3 separate regions of the Homo sapiens genome follow, and all the other regions are linked to region 1. The links are contacts of gene promoters, found by promoter capture Hi-C in blood cells and fetal thymus (Javierre and others, 2016). All regions are on one chromosome and are shown on one strand. The core of a region is centred on a gene start or on the middle of the fragment in contact, and the rest is flanking DNA. Distances in the headings are between cores, read along the strand shown.

What was found. Contacts are between HindIII fragments. The CHiCAGO score rates a contact against its expected background, and 5 or more counts as called.
Region 2: the fragment with the promoter of CPNE9 here is called in contact with the fragment with the promoter of CIDEC in region 1 in 5 of 17 cell types (monocytes, erythroblasts, neutrophils and 2 more); the score reaches 7.4 in monocytes.
Region 3: the fragment with the promoter of FANCD2OS here is called in contact with the fragment with the promoter of CIDEC in region 1 in 5 of 17 cell types (activated CD4 T cells, monocytes, erythroblasts and 2 more); the score reaches 8.8 in activated CD4 T cells.

What each region holds. Positions count from the first base shown.
Region 1 is chr3:9,878,099-9,881,637 of GRCh38, reverse strand. CIDEC (cell death inducing DFFA like effector c) reads left to right here and starts at 1,385. Exons shown (of 7, transcript NM_001321142.2): 1 at 1,385-1,414; 2 at 2,584-2,696; 3 at 3,127-3,204. The coding sequence starts at 3,152. The HindIII fragment of the contact is 5,760 bases long and covers 1,228-3,539 here.
Region 2 is chr3:9,702,147-9,705,751 of GRCh38, reverse strand. CPNE9 (copine family member 9) reads right to left here and starts at 1,919. Exons shown (of 21, transcript NM_153635.3): 1 at 1,688-1,919; 2 at 1,125-1,165; 3 at 957-1,003; 4 at 758-861; 5 at 252-288; 6 at 32-34. The coding sequence starts at 1,755. MTMR14 (myotubularin related protein 14) reads right to left here. Exons shown (of 19, transcript NM_001077525.3): 19 at 3,359-3,605. RefSeq lists an enhancer at 1,370-2,280. The HindIII fragment of the contact is 18,760 bases long and covers 1-2,636 here.
Region 3 is chr3:10,106,070-10,109,821 of GRCh38, reverse strand. It overlaps FANCD2OS (FANCD2 opposite strand), which reads left to right and starts at 1,567. Exons shown (of 2, transcript NM_001164839.2): 1 at 1,567-1,807. The HindIII fragment of the contact is 5,627 bases long and covers 1-3,752 here.

The sequences.
Region 1 (3,539 bases), core at 136-2,635:
TGTATGACACACATACACCACACGCACACACACAGAAGTGGAACTGCTGGGTCAGAGATCTTACACTCTTAACCACTCCACATTTCAGCTTGTCTTACTCTCTGCTATGATTTAATATGTACATTATCAAATTGAGAAAAAGACAAAAAAATTAAAAATAATAAAATAAAAATAAAAAATTATCAGTAATACTAATAATCACTTCGATCCATTGAGTGTTTATGTTTGCAAAGCCTTTATTTTTATTTATTTTTATTTTTTTGAGACAGAGTCTCACTCTGTCACCCAGGCTGGAGTGCAGTGGCGTGATCTCGGCTCACTGCAACCTCTGCCTCCCGGGTTCAAATGATTCTCCTGCCTCAGCCTCCTGAGTAGCTGGGATTTCAGGCACCCACCACCACGCACGGCTAATTTTTGTATATTTAGTAGAGATGGGGTTTTCGCCATATTGACCAAGCTGGTCTCGAACTCTTGACCTTGTGATCTGCCCACCTCGGCCTCCCAAAGTTCTGGGATTAGAGGTGTGAGCCACCGTGCCCGGACTTTTTTTTTTTTTTTTTTTTTTTTGAGACAGGGTCTCACTCTGTCACCCAGAATGGAGTGCAGTGGTGTGATCTAAGCTCACCGCAACCTCTGCCTCCCAGGCTCAAGCGATTCTCCTGCCTCAGCCTCCCAGATAGCTGGGATTACAGGCACACACCACCACGCCTGGCTCATTTTTCTATTTTTAGTAGAGACGGGGCTTCACCATGTTGGCCATGCTGGTCTCAAACTCCTGACCTCAAGTGATCCACCTGCCTCGGCCTCCCAAAGTGCTGGGATTACAGGCGTGAGCCACGGCACCCAGGCTACTTTTTTCTTTTTTCTTTTCTTTTCTTTTTTTTTTTTTTTTTCAGAGACAGGGTCTCACTCTATTGCCCAGGCTGTCCTCCAACCCCTGTCCTCAAGCAATCCTCCCGCCTCAGCCTCCCAAAACACTGGGATTATAGGCATGAGCCACTGTGCCCCTTTACTTTTATTGTCACTAATCCTCACCACTACCCTATAAAACAAGAATCATTATCGTCATTACACAGAGAAGAGAAACGGGCTCACAGAAGTCAAGTGATCTGTCTAAGCTCAAGCAAGCTGATATGGGGTGGAGTTGGGACCACAACCCACATCTGCCTGCTTTCTGTGCCCTCTGTGCTTGATCTCATGTCATGGGCCATCCATTTTGCCAAAGCTTTCGAAACATGCCTTCTCCCCTCCTTTTAGGCCTTTTCTGGAAGTCAGGCTGGCTTGCAGCTCTCACCCCAAGCTCTTTTCCCCAGCTGGGGCTGAAGGCTGGGGAGGAGCTTCATGGGGGCTGGAAATAAATGAAGGGAGGGCTGGGCGGGACAGGGCAGTATTTCCAGGAGGCTGTGAGGGGGAGGTAAGGAGTTTGTTATTGTTTTGGGTTTGGGGATTTTTTTTTCTTTGCTCCTGGAGAGCAGGTTAGGTAGCTCTTGGCAGAGTTTTGCTAGGGATACGAAGTGGGTGAGGCTGAGGCAAGCAGAATCCTCCTGCCTCAGCCTCCCACGTAGCTAGGACTAGAGCTTCTGCAGTGCTAAGTGGGAAAGGGGCTTTCTGCCTCTGTGGGGCCTGGTCTGGAAAGTCCCCCAAATTGTTAAAAGCAAAGAGTGATTGTCCCCAGCTGGCAAGGGGACTTTTGTTTTATGTCCACCCCTTGTGCCCCTTGCTCTGCGAAGCCCTACCTGTGCCGGGAGCTTCGAATAGGAAGAGGACCTCAGGGCCAGGCATCCAGGGACTGAGGGGCTACAGCAGAAACAGACCCAGAGGCACCCTTGGCTAGGAAGAGCAGGATGAAGGTGTAATAATTTTGGGAGTGGTCTAAGAAGACTTTCCTTTTAAAGAGTGGAAAGCAATGAAACTGAGGCTTCAAGGCTGCAAAAATTTCGTCCTGGATCAGAGAAGGGCACTACAGGTGGAGGGAACTATCTGTGCAAAGGGTTGGGCCCTTCAAGAGTTGGAGCACAGAGGTTTAGGAGAAAAAGTGGTGACAGATGAGCCCAGGGCTATCTGCTTAGACCTGTGATCTAATATGGGTGCCAACAGCCACATGGCAATGTGGCTATTTAAATTTAAATTAGTTAAAATTCAATAAAGTAAAAAATACAGCTCCTGTGCCAGGTGCAGTGGCTCACGCCTGTAATCCCCGCACTTTGGGAGGCCAAGACAGGGAGATCACCTGAGGTCAGGAGTTCAAGACCAGCCTAGCCAACATGGTGAAACCCAGTCTCTACTAAAAATCCAAACAAAACGAAACTAAACTAAAAATTAGCTGGGCGTGGTGGCAGGTGCCTGTAATCCCAGCTACGGGGGAGGCTGAGGCAGGATAATTGCTTGAACCCAGGAGGCGGAGGTTGTAGTGAGCAAGATCGCCCCATTGCACTCCAGCCTGGGTGACAAGAGCGAAACTCAAAAAAAAAAAAAATTCAGCTCCTGAATCACACTAGTTATGTTTCAAATACTCAATAGCCACATGGGGCTAGTAGCAATGGTATTGGAGAGTATGTACAAGGCATGCCTCTATCATCACAGAATGTTCTTTTGGCCACTGTGAAGCCTCAGGAAGGGGCTCGGATTGCTCAAGGACCCATGGGAGAGAGGAGGCTTTGACTGGGCTGCCTGCCTGTGAGGTCTCTGGACTAGAGGTGAGGGAACGGTCCCCAGAAGTGTGAGGTGGTGTGACTCACCTCCTGCCAGCGTAAAGTGGACTCTGTCCCCATGGACAGGAACAAATCGGGCAAGGCTTCTTCAGCCCTGAGTTGGGTTATCTGCTCAGTGTGACCAGAGCCAGGGGATGAGAAACATGGAGTGAGTGGGACTGGGGCAGGAGCAGCAGCTGCTGAGTGAGGCTGAGCCTGAGCACCCGGTGGGGAGAGGGGTGGGGTCTCCAGCTTGGTCTTGGTTGGCATGCATGGGGCCGGACAGGAGAAGGGCTGGGGGAGGTATGTGTGAGTTGGGATAGAAGAATAGGGAGGAAGGTTGCTGAACAGGGGTTGGGTTGCACCTTGCCTAACAATGAGAGAGATGGGAACCCTCTCATCTCACCCTGATGAATTGTTTCTGCCTCCTTCCCAGGTCCAACGCAGTCCAGCTGACAAGGATGGAATACGCCATGAAGTCCCTTAGCCTTCTCTACCCCAAGTCCCTCTCCAGGTGAGGAAAGTCATGGGCAGAATGGAAAGAGAGCCACCTATGAGCTGTAAGCCAGAACTTCTCAAACTTTAATGGGTATACAGGTCACAGGGGACCTTGTTCAAGTGCAGATTCTGATTCAGGAGGTCTGGAGTGGGACCCGAGATTTTGCACTGCCAAGAAGTCCCTGGGTGATATTAATGCTGCTGCTTACACCACCACCACACCATGCATAAAAAGGAGTAGACACTATGCTTGGTGCTTTTACTCCTGATCTCATGTAAGCCTCACAACAACTTTGGGAAGTGGGGGTTATTATACCAAATTAATAGGTGAGAGAACTGAGGCACATAGTG
Region 2 (3,605 bases), core at 670-3,169, 180 kb after region 1:
CCAACCTCTGCCCAGCCCCATTCAGCCTCACCTTCTGCAGGTCCCAGCAGTGGCAGCCAAGAAGGAAGAGGAACAGTGAGTAGGGGGCACAGGCAGGACACTCAGGCAGGAGGAGAGGGACCAGGAGGGTGGGTTGGGGGCCTGAAGAAGATGGGGTCTGGGTCGAGGGTTGGGAGGAGTTCTGAGAGTCGTTGAACACATCTAAGTGCCTCCTGTGCGCTCCGCCAACCCTCGAGGAAACGTTTGCTCACCGGTTTGGAGATGTTGGTTTTGGAGTCCACGTTGTACCTGGGAAAAGAGTGGAACCGGTGTGGGGTGGGGCTGGGTGGGGGAGAGGGTGGAAAGGGGTCGGGCACCGAGTCTTGGTGAAAATTTTGGGTGGAGGGATGGGCGGCCGTGGACCCGAATTCAGCTTTGGTCTCCTTTTGGGGAGGAGTCAGGGTGGGCTGAGTAGTCAGACGGTCAAGCCTGGGCCGAGGCCAAGTCAGGGGCTGCTGGGGGCAGGGTTGTGTGGAAGGGGTCGGGCCTGAGGTGGAGCTGCGATAGGAGCAGAGTTGTGGGCGGGGCCAGAGCGGGGGACGGAACTGGACCGCATCTCATAAAAGGGCAGGGCTCAGGCTAGAGGGGGCCATTCAGAATGGGAGGGAGGCCTGCGAGAAGAACCAGGCCGGAGGCGAGGCGGGGGTGGGGCCAGCCAGAATTCCGGGCGGATCCAGGTCGGGGGCGGGCCAAGCCAGAATTCCAGGCGGGGCCTCACACATCGAAGCGCAGATTTTGCTTTTCCTCAAAGAAATAGTCGAGGACGAATTTGCGCACGAAGTCTGGGTTCAGCGTGTTATCAATCACCTCGGTCCGTCCGAACTGGGTAGGGGGGTGGAGGGTCAGCGTGGGACGTGCAGACGGGCAGGGGAATTCCCGGGCGACGCCCTGGGCCGGGAGGGGGCTCTGGGACTCACCTCCCGCCACTCCTGGCTGGCCCGGCTCTGCGTGTAAAGCACCACCACTGCAGGTGGGGGCGGGGAGGGAAGGACGTCAGGTCGGCTCCCACCCCTGGCCCCGACTCCACCCGCCCCTGAGTCGCGCCCAGACCCCAAGTTCCCCCTCCCGGTCCTGGAGCCGCCTACTGGGGTCGGACTTGGAGAAGGTATCAAGGTCTAGCAGGTTCCTAGAGAAAAGCAACAGACAGACAGAGTGGATCATCCTGGAGTCCGCCCGCCTCGAGTCGGCTCTGAGCCGGGCACTGAGGAGAGGCATGGGGCCCGCATCGAACCTCTGTCCCCCATGGCTACCCCCAGCCGGGGTCCGCTCTGTCAGCACTCTGGACAGCACCGGAAATCGCTGTCCAGGAACCATGGCTCTGCGGACTGGACGCGAACGCACCCACACTGTCTCCAAGGGCCCAGGAAAGAGGGCTCGCCCCAGAACTTTGTCCTCCTGGGGCCGAGCTCCTACCGGATATCTGCGACCCACCCCCTGAACCCGCAGGCTGAGCCCTTTTTTCGGGGTGGGGCTGCCCAAGACCCCCCGCTTCTCGATCCCACCAGCTACTCGCCCTGTCATCAGCTGTGATTTTCCAGCCAATTTCGCCTCTCCCCGGGGGTCTAGCCCCTGCCCAGGCTGAGCCCCGCGGCTGGCTGGGGCTGGGGCAGTGCCAGTGCCTAAGCCCTCCCCAGCGCGGCCCGCTCACCGGCAGGACACGGTAATTTCAATCTTGGTGGCCGGGACGCTGCGCTCGGAGGCTCCGCCGAGAGACATGGCTGGTCGGGCGACCAGAGCCGCAGGAGGCTGCGAGACCAGGGCTGCTGGGGCTAGGGGCGACGGCAGCGGCGGGGCCGGCCCATGTGCCGCGGTGTCGGCGGCGGCGGCGGCTGCACTCGCTCCAGCCCTGCGTGCGCTCCAGCCGCTCGCGCCCTGACAGTGGCCGCCGGCGGCAGCGGCTCCAGATGGCAGCACAGCCCCGCCCGGCCCTGCGGGCGGCCCCCGCCCCATTGGAGCAGCCTGGAGCCAGCGGGGAACCTCACCCCGACTCCCAACTCCAACCCACACCTTGGTAGAGTCTGCCCTGCGCAAGTCTCTGGGGTGGAAACCCAAGCCCCCTAGAGTTGTCCATGATGCTGAAACATTTGGGGCACCTGGTGGGCACTGGAATTGTTGCCTCTTACTGAGCCACTCCCTTAGTGTTTCTGTCTTTTCCCACTCCCAGCCTGCCTAGGTCTCTGAATAGGAAAAGTACATCTCTTAGTAGCTGTGTGACCTTGGACAAGTTACTCAACATCTCTGTGGCTCAACCGTGAAAGGCCGTCAGAAAGGCCTTTAACAGCAGCTACTTTAGGTGCTGTAAAATTTTACTGAGATAACCCAAGGAAAACACTTAGCACACAGCAAGTGCTCAGTAAACATTCACTGGTATTTATGATTTGTCCTCTGGGTATTCACAATGATGACAGTAAATGGTGGCTGTTGAGCACCGTGCAAAGCTGTCTGCCCATGCCTTTAACCCTCACGACTTTCATGGCGTTACAGATGCGGACACACTCTCATGACGCAATCTACTGTAGGTTACACTGTAGAAGAGGGTGGTGGTCAGCCAGGCTCTCACCCACCACACATGCACACCAATTGCTATCTCCAAAGCTTCAGAAGCCAGTCCTTCCTCCATAGGCAGGGCTCAAGGTAGGGGATGCAGGTCACCCGTACCAGGACCCTGCTGCCTACAGAACTTGTTAAAGATGAAGATCCTGGTCAGGTACGGTGGCTCATGCCTGTAATCCCAGCACTTTAGGAGGCCAAGGCAGGCAGATCACTTGAGCTCAGGAGTTTGAGACTGGCCTGGCCAACATGGTGAAACCCCATCTCTACTAAATACAAAAATTAGCTGGGGATGGTGGCACGTTCACGTAGCTACTCAGGAGACTGAGGCAGGAGGATCGCTTGAACCCAGGAGGCAGGGGTTGCAGTGAGCCAAGATTGTGCCATTGCACTCCAGCTTGGGTAACAGTGAGACTCCATCTCAAAAAATCTGAAAAAAATGAAGATCCTCCAGCTCCTAATTCCCAGGCAACTTCCTTAGCAACCCTAAGGCTAAAGCTCAGGCAGCCCTGGGAATGTGCACAGCTCATCAGGCTCTCTAGGTGACTAGGACCTGCTTAGGCCCGAGAACCACTACTCTCAACAGTCTTGAGTGTTGTCCCCACTGCAGGGACTACCATGGCTCATGAGTGGAGAGGTATACCTGTCGCCAGTTCTCTTCCTGTTTCACCTGCCCTCCACATAAAAACCCCTTGTCCAGCACAAGGAAGGACAATGAGAACCTTCCTAGTAGCTCCACAAAGACAATAACCAAATGATGACACAAGAGTGGCTATTCAAAAAGACTTTGATTTTATTTTGTGATCTGTGTCAAACTGCCTCATTCTCAGTGCAGGTGATCCCTCCTCCCCAGAAACAAGAACTGACAGGTAGGGTCTTTGTGAAGTCATGGCTTCCACAAGGCCCCAGGGAAACCCCACACAGTTCTGAGAGTTGATGGGAATCCCAGCAAAGATGGGGTGGGTGGGAGACAGTGACAAGAAGGGGTGGTGGTCACCAGTCAAGAGGCTGGGGGT
Region 3 (3,752 bases), core at 318-2,817, 230 kb before region 1:
TTATTCAAGAGGGAAATAAAGCCAGTGTGGTGGCTCACGCCTGTAATCCCACCACATTGGGAGGCCGAGGTGCACAGGTCACGAGGTCAGGAGTTCGAGACCTGCCTGGCCAACATGGGAAACCCCGTCTCTACTAAAAACACAAAAATTAGCTGGGCCTGGTGGCACGCGCCTGTAATCCCAGCTACTCGGGAGGCTGAGACAGGAGAATCGCTTGAACCCAGGAGGTGAAGGTTGCAGTGACCCAAGATCAAGCCACTGCACTCCAGCCTGGGTGACACGGTGAGACTCCGTCTCAAAAAAAGAAAGAAAAAAAAAGAGGGAAATAAAAATGAACTAACTGGGGAAAAAAGTTTTGTAATTCAAAATCATTTGTGTCTCTTCCAAGTCTCACTATTCTGTGCCTCTCTCTTCATGTTCTGACCCGACATGCCCTCCAGACTCTTCTCCACTTACCTCTTCTTCCAAAAGGTGCACATGTACACACAGTGGGTGTGTGTCTTCTAAATCAGGATCTTGCCTGACTCTATTCTCAGACCCTCAGTCTTTCTCCATCAGCTTTACCCAAAAAACCAGAACAAAGGTGACAAGTCTTATTTGTGGTGTGTGTTCTATAGTTTGTAAAATGCAAGGGCAATTCTGGGTGTACAAGGGAAGGCCAAGTAGGCCATTAGTTACTTCCTCCCACAAATACTGCACACTGCCAGACATGGCAATAGCCAGGTACTGGGAATACAGACATCAGCTGGGTAGACTCCTCCCTTCCCTCAGCCATCCAGGGTCATTATTTTAAGTGATGATTACAAAGTTGTCAAATCACTCCTTCACTAATATGGCGAAAGTGTATTTCTGCATTATAAGAATGAGACAAAATCATTCTTTTTGAGATTTTTTTGTTTTCTTTTTGAGCTGGGAATCTCACTACGTTGCCCAGACTGGTCTTGAACTCCTGGGCTCAAGCAGTCTACCCATCTCAGCCACCTAGATAGCTGGGATTACAGGTACTCTCAGGTTTAACGCAAGGCTGAGAAAGGTTTTCTGTCAGGAAATCAAGGAAAGACGTGCGTTTCCTCCTGCTCTTGACAGGTGAACATTTATTAATTCTCTTTCTTTGCCACTGGGATCATTCAAATAGAGCAACAAAACCTGACAGAGCTCTGGGTCACTCTGCCTGAGCACCCACTGAGCAGAGTGTGATGAGTTGGGACTAACTTTTAACACTAACTACAGGTCCTGGGACTTTTATGCAGGCCTCTGACCATGGCCATTGAAGTAGGGGTCGCCTGTCCTCTGTGGCTTGATCAAAGGCACACAGGTACACAGGTGTGGCACGGTAGGGAGGAGGACAATGGAGGGGACAGGATTCGGACCAGCCCTCCTGAAGGCCAAGTCCTGGACAAGGCATTCCAATGAGGTGGGGGCGGGGAGTGTGGCCCTGACGCCTCCCAGTAGGGCGCCTCGAGCCCCCATCCCCGCCGCGGCTCGGGCTGCCCTGCCGTCCTGGGTCACAAAGGCGGTTGCCAGGCGCCACGAACAGCGGCCGCCACTTTGGAGCGTGAGACCCTCAGAGTTCAGCAGGTGAGCCCCGGGCCCGGATGGTGGGACTGGGCCCAGGTTCCCACCGCATCGTCCGCCTCAGCCAGAACCTTCTGGTCCCCGCCCCCGGATAGGGACCCAGGAGGCCCAAGCCCCTTCTTCCGGCGGGGAGTGGGAGCCTCTCGCACTCTCGGCAGCTCCAGACCCTCGGGATCTCCGTTTACAGTTCAGGACCTCAGCTGCACTTTGGCGCTAACGCCCTGTTTCCCAGGTGGGGAAATCAAGAGATGGGGTTCCTTGGAATGGGAAGTGGGGTGTGAAGGGGAAACCTTTTTGGCCAGGAGAATCAGGTGTTCCATATCTGGGAGCTATTGAGCAGCTTGAGCAGACTTTGTAGGTTCAAGCCCTTCTGGAGTGGTTGACAGTGACTTCTGGGCGGTGGGGATGGGGTGAACCATCTTTAAACTTTGTGCGAAGAGGTGCAGGGACCTAGGTTTAGAAGCGCTCTCGTCCCATGTTGGTTCTGCCGAATATTTAGGCTGACTCCTGACCTCAAGTGATTGGCCCGCCTTGGCCTCCCAAAGTGCTGTGATTGCAGGCCTGAGCCACCGCGCCGCGACCTAGGCTGGACATTTGACAAAGACTTTTACTTCTACCTCTACTTCCTCTTAGAAGATGTGGCAAGAAAAGGATCCGGGGGGCCCGGGCCCGGTGGCTCACGCCTGTAATCCCAGCACTTTGGGAGGCCGAGACGGGCGGATCACGAGGTCAGGAGATCGAGACCATCCTGGCTAACACGGTGAAACCCTGTCTCTACTGAAAATACAAAAAAATTAGCCGGGCGTGGTGGCAGGCGCCTGTAGTCCCAGCTACGGGAGGCTGAGGCAGGAGAATGGCGTGAACCCGGGAGGCGGAGCTTGCAGTGAGCGGAGATCGCGCCACTGCACTCCAGACTGAGTGACAGAGCAAGGCTCTGTCTCAAAAAAAAAAGAAAGAAAGAAAGAAAAGGATCCTGGGATTAAATACTTTTTTAAATCCCATATTCTGGGATTAAAAATATGCTTGACAGCATTCATACCCTCCGCCCACCTTGCCATGGTGGTGTACCACAGTAGTCCCTCTCTTGGATATGTGCTCTGAAGGTCAAGATATCAAGCACCAGAAGCCTTTCACAGGGTGTTTGGAATAGATAACTGTCCCTTGGGTGTCCCTTTCTCATTCTAAGGCAGCCCAGATATTTGAACACTTAGTACTTTGCAAAGAGCCTACATAGATCATGAGAAACATACTAGTTGGAGAAAATCAACAAATCCCCCTATACTAACCATTGTCAGGAGCAGGTCTTCTGGTCTGAAATGTCACCAACGTTTTTTTCTTTTTTGAGACGGAGTCTCCCTCTGTCACCCAAGCTGGAGTTCAATGGCTTGATCCCGGCTCACCGCAGCCTCCATTCAAGTGATTCTCCTGCTTCGGCCTCCTGAGTACCCGGGATTACAGGCACCCACCACCACGCCTGGCTAATTTTTGTATTTTTAGTAGAGACGGGGTTTCACCCTGTTGGCCAGGCTGGTCTTGAACTCCTGACCTCAAGTGATCCACCCACCTCGGCCTCCCAAAGTGCTGGGATTACAGGTGTGAGCCACTGTGCCCGGCCAACAGTTCTTTTTTTAAAACGAACTTTTCTATCTCACAAACGGCGGTGAAGGTGTCAAAATTTTCACAGTATTTCTGGGGCAATTACTGGATAGGATGAGATCTGCTGCTATCTTCTGTGGGAGAAGAAGGGGCAGAGAAATACACTTGGCTAGAAAGAAAAGGGACCTGCTATGCCCACTAACAAAATAGGTACGTGCTAAAAAAAATTAGCTTCTGAATTTAGTAAAACTTCTTATATACTGGCAATGTTGAAGGAGAATGATGGAAAATTCTAATTTTACTTGCATAAATTTTCAGTTAGCAATATCCTCACAGCCCTTTTTAATCTTCAAAGGAAAAAGAAAATTAAGGTCTTATGGAACCAGTAGGTCTTCCATAGATGGAAAACAAACAAATCAGAAAAACAAATTTAAAACCACACCCACACCTAGAAAAACAAAAATCTTTAACAGTTTTTTGACTGGACTTTGGAAGTGTTTTCTCCCAGCCTGGTGTAGCTCCTCTGAGGTGGTATATAAATAACCCAGGGGTCTGCAAGTTGCTCCCTTGTGCTAGAAAAT